2 separate regions of the Homo sapiens genome follow, and region 2 is linked to region 1. The links are contacts of gene promoters, found by promoter capture Hi-C in blood cells and fetal thymus (Javierre and others, 2016). All regions are on one chromosome and are shown on one strand. The core of a region is centred on a gene start or on the middle of the fragment in contact, and the rest is flanking DNA. Distances in the headings are between cores, read along the strand shown.

Evidence for each region. Contacts are between HindIII fragments. The CHiCAGO score rates a contact against its expected background, and 5 or more counts as called.
Region 2: a fragment that was not itself captured here is called in contact with the fragment with the promoter of WSCD2 in region 1 in 1 of 17 cell types (endothelial precursors); the score reaches 7.1 in endothelial precursors.

The regions. Positions count from the first base shown.
Region 1 is chr12:108,127,838-108,130,537 of GRCh38, reverse strand. It overlaps WSCD2 (WSC domain containing 2), which reads right to left and starts at 1,250. Exons shown (of 9, transcript NM_014653.4): 1 at 612-1,250. RefSeq lists a silencer at 940-1,029. The HindIII fragment of the contact is 4,828 bases long and covers 1-1,571 here.
Region 2 is chr12:108,445,673-108,448,372 of GRCh38, reverse strand. No RefSeq gene overlaps it. Among named protein-coding and RNA genes, the nearest start is that of LINC01498, 27 kb to the left of the region's middle. The HindIII fragment of the contact is 1,184 bases long and covers 792-1,975 here.

The DNA of each region.
Region 1 (2,700 bases), core at 1-2,500:
TTCCCTCTCTCTCTTTACACACACACACACACACACACACACACACACACACACACACACACCCCAGAATGGACATAAGCAAATCTGCAAGGCACCCTACACAAAGCCCATTGCCTGGGCAGCTCTGGCTGTTGGCATCAGATGACAGGCAGCCTTATTCACCAGAGTATCACCCCCAAGAAACATCTTCTACAGCCAACTTGGAAATATGACTAGCTCCCTCTCCCTTGGAACTCTGCACTGGCCAGAAAGAGGGTGATTCATAAATCAAATTTACGGGGCCCACTGCCTCCCCGCTGGCCCACCTCCGCGGGAGAAGCCCTTGAATGCATGCCTGTAGGGGGCACAGGAATGCCCAGAGGAAGGATGCCTGGATGAGCCGGAATGTCCCACCCTCTGCCAGAGGAGAGAAAGTTTGTCATCTACGCAGAGCTGGGCTGTCACCACTCTGGGTTCCTCACTCGCCGGGCTCTGGACGACGAGCCCCCAACCTGCGGGGAAGCGTCTGGAAAGCGAAGCCCAGATCTAGGGGCAGAAGACATTTCGCACCAGCTCCGCGCCCGGCTCCCTCCTGGAGCCCTCTTCCCAGGTCCAGGCACCTGAGTCCTTACCTGAAGGGTCTCCGCCACTTGCAAACTCTGCCAGCTGAGCTCAGCAGGCGCCCGGGGTCCCTCTCTGCGACTCCCGCGTCCCGCTTGGCGCGCCCGCTCTGTGGGCGCCTTCCCAGCTGCTGCAGTGGCTTTAAGGAAAGGGGAGCCTGGATTTCCTTTCTCGCCACCAAGGCTCCTCCTGCCGGGCCCTGGGGCTATTTCTCCAGGTCTGGCTCAAGGGGCATCCTCTGCGCCTCCAGCGGGAAAGTGGGATAGTGTGCGCCTTGAATTGCAGCAGCGGCGACAGCGGTGGCCGGGGACGAGGAGGCGGTGGCGACGCCAGCCGGCGAGCCAGGGAGGCGGGCGGAAGCGAGAGGAAGTGAAAGCCGGGCTCCTGTGAGCCTGGCGCTCGGGCGGGCGGCACTGCGGGTGCCCCGAGCCGCGGCGAGGCCCCGCGCGGGCACCCGCCCCGGGGATGGAGATGCCCGGGCCCGGTGCGCGCAGGGCACCGGCTGCGGCTCGGCGCGGAGCTCCGGCCGCCTGGCTCTCTCTCGCTGCCTCGCCGCTGCCTCCTTGGCTGCCTTGCTCGCTCCCCTGGACTTCACGTCTCCAGCCCTAGCTCCCGCGCCGCTGCCGCCGCCGCCACCAGCAGCGCGCCTCAGCCCGGCGCGCTCCTCGCACGGAGCCACAGCACTGCCTACCGCTTAACTCCTTGCATGCCACCTGGCCCTCCCGCAGCCTCCCGGGGAGCCGGGCATAGCCGGTGCCAGGCCGGCTGAGCATATCGGGCAGGGGCCTCAGCCTTCCGGCCTCAGTGTCCTCTTCTGTAAAATGGGTTCGAGACCCAAGCCCAAACCATAGGGTCGCTGGAAAAATTCACTGAGCGGATTACGCAAAGTGCCAAGCTGCCTGACATGGGGAGTATGCACCCCAAATGGCAGAGTGCTTGCTGCTGCTGCTACTGTTGTCGACCAAGAAGCTTAGCACGGTGCCTCACAAATAGTAAACACCCAATAAAGCGCAGTTTCGGTTTTTGGTATTTAGTTTGTAGTTTTAACAGGTGGTAAGTTTTAGCTGTGTAACCTCTGGGTGATCACTCGCCCTCTCTGAGCCTGTTGCTTTCCAATCTCTGTGACCTTGGGCAAGTCACAGCACCTCTCTGAACCTTTGTGTCCCCATCTGTAAAATGGGGACAGTAATGCCCGTAGTCAAAGAATTCCCAGAGAAGCTCTGGCAGAAGAGCCCTTCTCATGACGGGGCAGGGCATCTAACGGGAGCTGGACATCTTTTCTTTCTTGATCTGGCTGGTGGCTGCACAGGTGTTTGTGACAAGTCGTTGTACTGTACATTTACATATCAAGTGCTTTTCTGTACATGGGTTAAATCTTAACTGTTTTTTGTTTTTTTGTGTTTCTTTTTTTTTTTTTTTTTTGAGAGACCATTCTTGAGCAAAACAGAACTGGGTTCAAGCATGGGCTCTAGTACTTTCTGGTTGTGTCACCGTGACCAAGTTATTTCATCTTAAGGAGCCTCAGTTTCCTCATCCATAAAATGGGAACAATGATAATACCTACTGGATAGGTGATATAAGGATTAAAGGGTTTCAAGCAAAATGGCAGATATAAAGCTTGAGGCCTGAACTCAACCAGTATCTGCTGGTACTGATCACATATTCTACAGTATTATATATGTCCCATAGTAAGGGGTGTCTGGGAAATAACAAAGAGAACTGAATTTGAATCTCCTCAACAGTTGCCAGGTAAAATACAGGATGCCCAGTTAAATTTTTAGTATAAGTCTGAAATTTTACATGGGATATACTTTCACTATTTTTTTTACATTGTTTACTCAGAACCCAAATATAATTGGATGTCCTTTATTTTATTTTGCTGCATCTTGCAATCCTAACTCCATAATTACCAGCTGTATGTCCTAAAGTAAATGACTTAGCCTCTCTGGCCTTGGTTGCCCAATCGGTAAAATAGGACTAAAGATTTCTTCTAATGTTGACAAGAGAATGAAACTGATTAAAGTGGGTGGGTGTTCCCAGCAGCACATGTTAAGCCCTCCACATTTGTTCCGTACACTTCCTGTCAATCATCTCCCTCCC
Region 2 (2,700 bases), core at 134-2,633, 320 kb before region 1:
TCTGGAAATGGATTCTCCAGCCCCAGTTAACAGCATTCCGATTGTTAACCAAAAAGTGACTGAGGCCATTAGAGGTTTATTTAGCCAAGGTTGAGGATGCACCCTGGACAAACAGAAATCGGAGGAGCATCTGTGATCTCTGCTTTTCTCCAAAGGGGGCTTTGTGTGCACTTTGGTTTTTAAAGGAGAAAGAGCAAGGAGTGGGAGGCAGGAGAGGAAGGGAGGGAGATATGCAGTGAGGTAGATGGTTACATTCTTGTGAAGCCCTGATTAGTCTCAATAAATCCAAATTTTAGGCGGGGCACAGTGGCTCATACCTGTAATCCCAGCACTTTGGGAGGCTGAGGCAGGTGGATCACTTGAGGCTGGGAGTTCCAGACCAGCCTGGCCAACATGGCAAAACCCTGTCTTTACTAAAAATACAAAACTTATCTGGTGTGTAGCTGTAATCCCAGCTACTCAGGATGCTGAGGCAGGAGAATCGCTTGAACCTTGGAGGTGGAGGTTGCAGTGGGCCAAGATTGTGTCATTGCACTACAGCCTGGGCAACAGAACAAGACTCTGTTTCAAAAAAATCAGTCAATCAATCAATCAACATTATACATGTGAAAAGAGGGAGTAGAGGAAAAAGTCAATTATGTATTATCTCCCTCTCAGTAAATCTACATTTTACATAAGATAAACATGAAAAGAGGGAGTAGAGGAAATGAGCTCATGGTTTGGGTTGTGAAATTCCAGCTGTCTGTTTGGGAACAAAAGGAAGACAGTATTGGTGGCTCAATTCCCAAGCTTAACTTTCCCTTTGGCATAGTGAGTTTGGGGTCGCATAATTCTATTTTTTTTTTTCATAAGATGATTTCTGGCATGGGAGACACTGAACCATAACCACCCAGCTAAGCTGCCCCTGGATTCCTGACCTGCAAGACATGAAGTGAGATAACAAATGGTGTTGTTGTAAACCTTACCATTTCTGGGTAATTCATTGTGCAGCAGTAGATAACTGATACCAGACCCTTCACTGAGTCTTTTGGGCTTGAAATGGAGAGAGTCAGGCTAATTTGGGATCTGGGATCTCTTGGCAGACATTATTTCCTATCATAAAGATCAGAATGCCAGAAGAAGCCAGTTTCCAAGCAAGAGAGGGCAAAATGAGAGAGGGAGAGTGGGAGAGAGAAAGAGAGAAGAGAATAGAGAGAGAGAAGACTGGGGTGTGTGTGTTATTTCTACCTTTTTTTGGGTGACAAAACCCAGATTTACCTTTGCAGGGATGACTCTTTTCCCACTCTGTGTTCATTTGGTTCGATAGATCTGGCTGCACGCCCTCGCTTCCTGGGTGATTATGTAATTTACATAGTTTTAGCACCAATATGAAGTAGTTTCTGAAGCTAGCCTCCGGGGTTTTCAGTTATCTGAGCCAGTATTTCCTCCCTACTTTTTTTTTTGCTAAACTTGGTTTGACTTGAGTCTCACAAGTGAAAGCGACTTCATTGAAACAGGAGCAGAGAGAAGCAGCAGATAGAGATTAAGAAATTTCTTGAGAATGTACAAATTCCTGGATCCAGCTGTTCCCAAAACCCAGGCAAATCCTGCCTTCAATAACAACAGCCGGACAGCAGCAACAGCAAACATTTATTGAATACTTATAATGAATTCCACCTTTGGCTAATTTAGTTTCTCCCATTCGCAATCAAGAAAGTCTTGAAGAATACAATATCCATTGCAAAAATATCTGGAAAGGGAGATAATGTGCCAAGGGAAGCAAAATAAATCAAGGTTTACAAAAAGACAAAAGTGAAAGATCACGCAAGACCATAACTGTGTCATGTGTAAATTTCACCTAGGCCTTCTCTGTATTTAGGGCACCCTGTGACAGGGACCTCAGCCCCATAGGGAGATCTCAATGGATTAGATGCTAAGCTGATGCAGGCTTGGGGAGTTGCCAGAGAAACCTAAGCAAGGCATACATCTAAAAGCTTTCTGAATAGTTAAAATTAGGTCCTAAATCTATCTTCTTATTAAGAATGACAGGGATGGGCCGGGTGTGGTGGCTCACACCTATAATCCCAGCACTTTGGGAGGCTGAGGCAGGCGGATCACTTGAGATCAGGAGTTCAAGACCAGCCTGGTCAACATAGAGAAACCCCATCTCTACTAAAAATACAAAAAATTAGCGGGGCGTGGTGGCACATGCCTGTAATCCCAGTTACTTGGGAGGCTGAGGCAGGAGAATCACTTGAATCTGGGAGGCAGAGGTTACACGGAGCCAAGTTTGTGCTATTGCACTCCAGCCTGGGCGACAGAGTGAGACTCCACCTCAAAAAAAAAAAAAAAAAAAAAAAAGAATGTTAGGGATGGAAGATGGTGTTGGAAGGGGGATGTTTTTAAATTGAGAAACCATATTCCTTATGTATTCTTTTTTTTTTCTCTTAGGTTTTTTCCTTTTTTGCATAGAATACGAAGTTCAAGTTCTGTTGTTGTTGTCTTTGTTGTTGTTTTGAGACGGAATTTCACTCTTGTTGCCCAGGTTGGAGTGCAATGGTGTGATCTTGGCTCACTGCAACCTCTGCCTCCCAGGTTCAAGTGATTCTCCTGCTTCAGCCTCCCAAGTAACTGGGATTACAGGCATGCACCACCACGCCCAGCTAATTTTTTGTAATTTTTTTTTTTTTTTTTTTTTTTTTTTTTAGTAGAGATGGTGTT